3 separate regions of the Homo sapiens genome follow, and all the other regions are linked to region 1. Evidence: promoter capture Hi-C in 16 types of primary human blood cells and fetal thymus (Javierre and others, 2016). All regions are on one chromosome and are shown on one strand. The core of a region is centred on a gene start or on the middle of the fragment in contact, and the rest is flanking DNA. Distances in the headings are between cores, read along the strand shown.

The links. Contacts are between HindIII fragments. The CHiCAGO score rates a contact against its expected background, and 5 or more counts as called.
Region 2: a fragment that was not itself captured here is called in contact with the fragment with the promoter of IL36G in region 1 in 2 of 17 cell types (M1 macrophages and M0 macrophages); the score reaches 5.3 in M1 macrophages.
Region 3: a contact is called between a fragment that was not itself captured here and the fragment with the promoter of IL36G in region 1, in 2 of 17 cell types (M0 macrophages and M2 macrophages). The highest score is 6.0, in M0 macrophages.

What each region holds. Positions count from the first base shown.
Region 1 is chr2:112,976,748-112,979,266 of GRCh38, forward strand. IL36G (interleukin 36 gamma) reads left to right here and starts at 1,259. Exons shown (of 5, transcript NM_019618.4): 1 at 1,259-1,331; 2 at 1,873-1,946; 3 at 2,474-2,519. The coding sequence starts at 1,892. The HindIII fragment of the contact is 15,608 bases long and covers 1-2,519 here.
Region 2 is chr2:112,730,681-112,733,199 of GRCh38, forward strand. The region is part of intron 16 of NT5DC4 (5'-nucleotidase domain containing 4); the gene reads left to right. Among named protein-coding and RNA genes, the nearest start is that of NT5DC4, 11 kb to the left of the region's middle. The HindIII fragment of the contact is 605 bases long and covers 961-1,565 here.
Region 3 is chr2:112,747,741-112,750,259 of GRCh38, forward strand. The region is part of intron 5 of CKAP2L (cytoskeleton associated protein 2 like); the gene reads right to left. Among named protein-coding and RNA genes, the nearest start is that of CKAP2L, 16 kb to the right of the region's middle. RefSeq lists an enhancer at 2,265-2,314. The HindIII fragment of the contact is 1,467 bases long and covers 532-1,998 here.

The DNA of each region.
Region 1 (2,519 bases), core at 9-2,508:
AAATGATGGGAATTTTAGATGCTGTTTTGTGGTGAACATCCCAAGAAAGGAGTTATGTTGACTGATGTGTAATGGAGGGGATTTTTAACAGGGCAATGGAGACTCAAGTGAGGTGGCACTGGCTCAGGTTGACTTTGAACAAAAGTGCACCTGGCATTACCACACTCTTTCCTAGGGTCACAGAAACACTGGAAGCCAAAAGTGATAGAATTGGGGCCATGGCAGGAAAGGACTGTGTTCTTCCAAGGCCAGAAAGGAGATTAGGGTGAAAAGTAAGAGACGTTGAGTCAGGAGACTCTTTGCAGGGCTGGGAAGAGGGGCTCATGGATGAGCTTATCTGGAAGGTTCTGTCTCATTCTTTGTGCTTTTCTTCCTTATAGATGGGTAAACCTGAAGCTGTTAGTGCTTCAAGTCTGTCTCCTAAAACTCACTTCACTCTAGTAGTTAACTTATACCTCAGTAAATTTTTAGGCTTGGCTACAGCAGATAGGATGGGGTGTATAAACAAGATATAAAAATAACTATTACCACTGATCAGGAACCTAGGGCAGAGGGTGGGGGATAAGCTGGCATCTGGGGCTCAGATTTGGGAGAAATCGCTGCCCACCTCTTTACTTCCTTAGGCAGTTCTGGAGTCCACTGCATTTTGAGGGTACCTGAAACTAGGATTGCCTCAGTTAAAAGACCAGTCTGCATAGTCCCTGTGGCTCCCCATGTGGATGGAGCTGAAAGAGTGTTAGGTAGGGGAGCTCTACTGCCTGGCTTTCCATTCAGGTGTGGCCTTAGGTGGGGTAGTTGAGAAATGCCACAGGGACCTTGCCTGAGACGTGTGGCTAATTTTGCTCTTACAGGATGCCTTTAGCCTGACTGCAGAGGGCAAGGCTCCCAGTCCCAGGAGATGGAGTCCCTGACATGAGAGTGCCTGGCATTTCCAGTTCTAGCTCTAGAATGACATGACAGGAGAGCTGAACTCTGGGAAATTCCCTTAGTTTCCCCTTTATGAGAAACCTAGGATCTGTCATCAACCTCATTTCCTTGTGGTTGATTTTGTGCGGATTGGCTCAACACTTATTTCTCAGCGAGCCCGGACAGGTGATACTTGTGCTAATTCTGTGATTTCTTCCTCCGAGCCTCACAGGATCTTCTGGTAGGAGGAGCTGGTTTTCTTTCATGTCATACGTTTCTCATGCCCCACCCAGGAAGCTGGAGCCTCCTTCTCTGCTCATCCAGATAAATGATCCAGGCTCCATTAGAACCCATCACTGACCTTGGAAGCTGCTGGAGCCACGATTCAGTCCCCTGGACTGTAGATAAAGACCCTTTCTTGCCAGGTATAGTCAATAGCTGGAAAACCTCTTCTCCCTCCCTCTGGAGCCTTTCCTCTCATCTGTGCTTTGGGCTTAATGAAGGGAAGGGCCACATCAGGCTGGCTCTGTGCTTTGTCCTATGTGTGGCTGCTTCTTACTGGGGAGTTGCTGGGATCCTGGCAGAGTGGCCCTGGCATGGGACCCTCCCCTGCTCCTAGGCAAAAACAATGCCGATGAAGGGGTGGAGGCTTCAGAGAAGAGGAGTCAGGGCATCAGGTGCCTGTGGGTTATTTAAGGTCAAATTTTATGCCTGGCCTTCGAACTCCTAGGGGAGACACTACCATACTATCTGGATCTCCAGGTGGAGGAAAATTCTACCTGTTCTCCCTTTGCTGATGCTTCCTTCAAGTTTCGTCCCAGATGTGGCTCAGAACTTCTGCCCAGAGCTTCGTGTCAGGCCAGGTTTCCCAGCTCCCTGTCTAGAATGAGGGCCTGTGGAGCTAGTGTCCTGGAAGGTCTTGGAAACATCTCTTGTGGTTCATCTGTTCTATGTCTGCTTTCACAGGTGCTGAGACAACCACACTATGAGAGGCACTCCAGGAGACGCTGATGGTGGAGGAAGGGCCGTCTATCAATCAAGTGAATCAAATGCTGTTGGGATGGGGCTCTGGAGGCTTAGGCCCTCTGCACTCACGCTATCTCCTGTGGAAGCCCCAGCCTTCTCTGCTCCTCTCTGTACACTGCCCTTCCCACCTGGTGCTGCCCACCTACCACTGGGCCCTGGGCTTCTGGAGGGTGGGAGCTATTGCTTAGTCACTGATCCAGCTCCAGTCCCCAGCACCGGGGCCAAGCACAGAGTAGGCACAAAAGAGGGTAGCTGGGCCTTGGCACACAGGTTCTGTGAGACTGCTCATTGCCCTCTGTCTTGATAGTTTGCCCTCTTAAACCAGTGACTTCCCTTGGTAGCCCTTGCCTTCCTCACCAGAGCTCACAACTTCACTAGAAAGAAAGGCTAGGCTGATGGGTGATGTGAGTGCTGTCAGTTTGGGGATGCAAACCCCACACCTTCCTTACAAAATGGCCTGGGTTAGATACTTTTCTCCTGGGTCTAGTAAAGCAGCCTTGATTATAATATTTCTTCATTTTTTTCTCTATCCCAAAATCAGTGTGTAAACCTATTACTGGGACTATTAATGATTTGAATCAGCAAGT
Region 2 (2,519 bases), core at 13-2,512, 250 kb before region 1:
AGATGTGTATCCCATAGGTCCCCTTTAGCTGGGTTGTACCAGGCACAGTGTTTGTTCTTTCAACCAGTATTTACTGAGCACCTCCTGTGTGCCGGGCAGTTTAGAAAATAAAGTGTAAGTTACTTCATTCCTGCCTAGGAGAAGCTCAAAATTCAAGTGCATTCACAGGCTTTAATCAGTGGTTGGCAACTGTTTTTCTATCCTAGCCCAGCAGAGAGATGGACACACTCCTGTCAGTAACAGAGGCTTGCTGGGGAAGCCTGTGGTTTGATCCCTCTATATCCTCACCCCATCAGGATCCAGCCTAGGGCATTTTGACACATTATCTACCCCTGGTTGGGCGTCACTGTGTGAGCTTGGGAAGAAAATATCCATAGTCACTTTCTGTGTTTCTTATAAGGGTTAGGGCAAAGAGAGAAACGAGGATCAGGAAAGTTACATCGAGGCTGACGGAATCCTGGACATGGGCTGGCATCACGGGCCATCTTCTACTTGAGATATTTTTCAGATAACACAAGTATGGAAAAAGGAAAAAGCAACTGTATTGAAATCTCCTAAATGCAGCAGATTTGGAGCCTGCAAACACTTCTTTTAGGGAGGAGGCAGTATTGCTCTTAACCTAGAAGGCATCCTCAATGGTCTTTGAGACGTTTGGAAACGTGTGCACAAGTGAAATTATTTTACCTACTTCTCTTGAACGCATGATGTCTCATATCCAATTTTATTTCTAAACATTTCTTTTAAAAAATAGTTATTTCTGTGCACTTCTGATTCTGTTACTAGTAAGAACAGTAAAACCTGATTGGCTATATATTGCCTCACTAACTGCTCTTTCATTCTGGGTCACTACGAAAGATGTTAAATGAGATAGCCCAAATGTCTTTGAGTTTGTGTATACACATTAAAACACATAAAAAGTCATACTCATGATTTTAAAACTTGACTCTCGAATGTGTTAGAAGCTTCTCTGTGGTATTAAAGTGCTGAAGCATCATTGCTCTGATGTCACTGATTTCAGTTTACTCCTACAGTTTACTTTTTGTCTGTTAGTGGTATCATCTGGCATTCTGTGGAGACCTAGGTTGAATCTGCATGTTTGAAATGACAAAGTAAACCCTTGAAGGAACAGGTCTGAGGACACACTTCATTAGCTTCATTTTCTGTGGATAAACAATGGCAACACTTAGATACCTGAGGATAAATAAGGGACAACGGGCCATGGAATCAGAGAGTTTACTTTTTTTTTTTTTTTTTTTTTTTGAGACAGAGTCTCATTCTGTCACCCAGGCTGCAGTGCAGTGGCACGATCTCGGCTCCACCTCCTGGGTTCAAGCAATTCTTCTGCCTCAACCTCCGAGTAGTTGGGATTACAGGCATACTCCACCACACCTGGCTAATTTTTGTATTTTTAGTAGAGACAGGGTTTCACCATGTTGGCCAGGCTGGTCTCAAATTCCTGACCTCAAGTGATCCGCCTGCCTCGGCCTCTTAACGTGTAGGGATTACAGGCGAGAGCCACCGAGCCTGGCATTTTTTTTTTTAAAACATCTTCTTTGCATTTCAGAAGCTTCCAGGTTTGACACTGCCAAGGCCTTTTCTTCCTTTCCCTGGTTTGACTTTCAGGTCCCAGAGCCTGCAGGGGCAGGTTCTCCAGTAAATCCCAGGTCTCACTGGCCTGTGTCTTTACAGGGGCAGGTTCTCCAGTAAATCCCAGGTCTCACTGGCCTGTGTCTTTACAGGGGCAGGTTCTCCAGTAAATCCCAGGTCTCACTGGCCTGTGTCTTTACAGGGGCAGGTTCTCCAGTAAATCCCAGGTCTCACTGGCCTGTGTCTTTAAACGCTTGATTCTTAGTCAAGAGCTAAAGGATAGTATTTATCAGAAAAACTGCTCAGACCCTAGAGCCCATACTTTTCCGGAAAGGTCCTGAAATATAGTGTGGTAGCTAACACTACAAAAGTCAAATCTCAGAATTCCTACCCAGGGTAGAGAGGATACAGAAAAGGACTGAGGGATAAACAATCTGGCAGAAATGCTTTAGGGGATCCTAGCGAGGGAAAGGAGAGAGGTGGCCAAAGGGCCTTTCTTGTGCTTTTCCTATGTCTGGCCCATTCCCTGCCTCTTCTCCCTGTTACCTCCGCTCTCCCCTCAGCGAAGATCCCTGACTAGACCAGTTTCTCTTTAGTCCCTCGCTCATAGGCCTCTATTTCTCAGGACTTGGAGTCTTGCATTTGTGGTTCCTAGATTAACACGTGTCCTCACTAGACTCTCAGCTCCAAAAGGTAATGTCCTTTTGGCTCACCGTTGTGTCTCTGGCATCTACGTACCTGTGTATTTTATTGAAAGACACATGTCACCCAGTTTATTATTACTCTTGTAGAACTGCAGGGAAAGGGCAGGACAAAGAATATGAGAAAAAAGAAAGTGGAGAAAGGATATAGGGCTTTGGATTAGAATGCTACCTCCTACCCAGACACATTCATGAGAAAACTCATATCCTTAGACAAACTCCTAATTCTGT
Region 3 (2,519 bases), core at 15-2,514, 230 kb before region 1:
GAGAATCACTAACATTTGAGAAAACCAACACTACATGAAAGAGGCATAAAACTCAACAAACAAGAATGAACACTGGAGCAAAGAGGAATACTTTTAAGAGTATCACAGTCAATATCTTCAGAGTGATAAGAGAGAGTATTGCTATCCTAAAACTAGAATGGGCTGTTATGAAAAATAACCAACAGAAAGGCAGAACAACTGCATGGACAGCGCTGAAGAATACATCTGTGAGCTGAAAATTCAGCTGTGAAATCCTCCTAGAAACCAGTGTAATAAAACAATGAAGTGAACAGTATGAAAACAACATTTAGAGTTCTGAAGGATATATCCATTACTCAATAACTCCAATATCCATCTAAGAGAGTTTCTAGAAGGAAAAAAGTTCAACACACAAAGTGGTTGTAGAAGAAGAATTTCAAGAAATGAACAAAGAAACAGTTGTTCAGGTTGAAAAGGCTCTCAGATAGTTAAGCAGGATGAATGGGAGAAAAAAATATAATAGAAAACCAAAGATAAAAAGAAAATCGTACAAGCTTCCAGAGAGGGGGAAGAAAAGGATTACCTATAAAGGAATGAGAATCAGACTGACGTGAGACATTAACAAATCAACAACTCCAGATGCAAGAAAGAAAATGAAGCAGTCACTTAAATTTTTCCAGGGAAAACAAGCTGAAATTAAGAAATTTCCCCCAGCCAAACTATGATTCCAGCATGAAGGCAAATAACAAGTTTCACAAGAATACAGACTCAAAAGGTTTGCCATTCAAAAATCATAAAGTCACTAGTGAGTAAACTTTAGAATTCACATGAAAGACTTGAAATAAAAGTAACTGCAGGCCAGGTGCAGTGGGTGGTTCACACCTGTAATCCCAGCACTTTGGGAAGCTGAGGCAGAGGACTGCTTGAGGCTAGGAGTTTGAGACCAGCCTGGGCAACACAGTGAGACCCTGTGTCTACAAAAAAATGTAAACTATAATGGGTGTAGTGGTGTGTACCTGTAGTCCTAGCTACTCAGGAGGCTGAGGTGGAGGATCACTTGGGTCCACCCAGGAGGTTTAAAGTTGCAGTGAGCTATGATGGCATCACTGCACTCCAATCTAGGCAAAAGAGTGAAACCCTGTCTCTTAAAAAAAAAAAAAAAATGAAAAAAGGAACTGCAAGAAGAATATGATATATATTCTGCAAATCATGTTTGAGCTTACATCTATCACTTTATTTTCATTTCAGTGTATTATTTTATGAAATAAAACTAGATTAAACACAGAAATGAGGAAAAAATAATTCATGTAAGCTGAATTACAAAATAAAATAGCAGGCATAAGTTTAAACATACAAGTAATCATAATAAATGTGTACGAACTAAATTTGCTTTTTAAAAGCAGAGAGTTTCAAATTTGTTTAAAACATTTAACTGTGTGCATTTATATGAGACATACCTAAAATAAGTCAGCCCATGAAGGCTTAAAGTAAAGGGATGGAAAAAGAGCTACCAGAGCTACCAGACATATTCTAACAACAAAAAGCAGGTGTGGCAAGATTAATCAGACAAAAGAAATCAAAGCAAGTCATGAATCTTTCTGTACCTAACAACATAACTTTAAAAAATAGAAAGTAAAAATTGACAGACATATGAAGAGAAATTGTCAATGATTAATCACAGTGCCAGTGACAGACTTTGGCATATTTCTTTCAGAAAGCAATAGATCAAATAAACAAATAGGATATACATTATTTTCAAACACTTTTGGAACATTTACCAAGAATGATCAGATATTAAGGCCACAAAGAAAATTTCAACAAAATCCATCAAGTAGAGTACACATAGGCCACATTCACCAACTACAATGCAATATAATTAGAAATTAACAGCAGAAAAAAAAAATCTACACATCTGGAAATTAAAAGATACTTTTCTAAGATATTTTTTGGGTTAAAGAACTCAAAATGGGAATCTCAAGCTATTTAGAAATGAACAATGACAAGATATGTCAGTTATGAAGCTTTTGTCTATTGGCCCCAAACCCCATCCTCTGCTTTGTGATGCTGGGGATAAAACTCTGTAAAACTTTCTGCTGGGCAGCAGCTCCCTGCTCAGCTCTGCCAGCAGGGGGCACGAGAGGGAGGCTGCAGGGATGGAGAAGGAAGACACTTGCTTCTTCCTATTTGCTTTCATCACCCCAGCAACGGTCCCTCACCCTGGCAGTAACAGTTGGTTCTAGCATCTTTTTTTCCCCCTCAGAGCCCACCTCCCTGTGCAGCTTCAGAGCAGAAGCACCAAATGGATAGCATCTTTTCCTCAAAATCTGAGCCCCAGCCCTGCAGGGCCTCTCCTCCATCATCTGCTGGGTAGTATGCCTTCCTTACAGTTGGAGTCCCATTTCTACCAGGGTTTGTCTCTCCTGCTTCTTGGTTCTGATACCCTAACCTCTCTTTGTTCTCCTAGACCCAGTGGGTACAAGCTGCTTCCTACAGTTATCACATTACCTCAGGTTCCTGTGTGCTGTCAGCCCTGTGTGTAG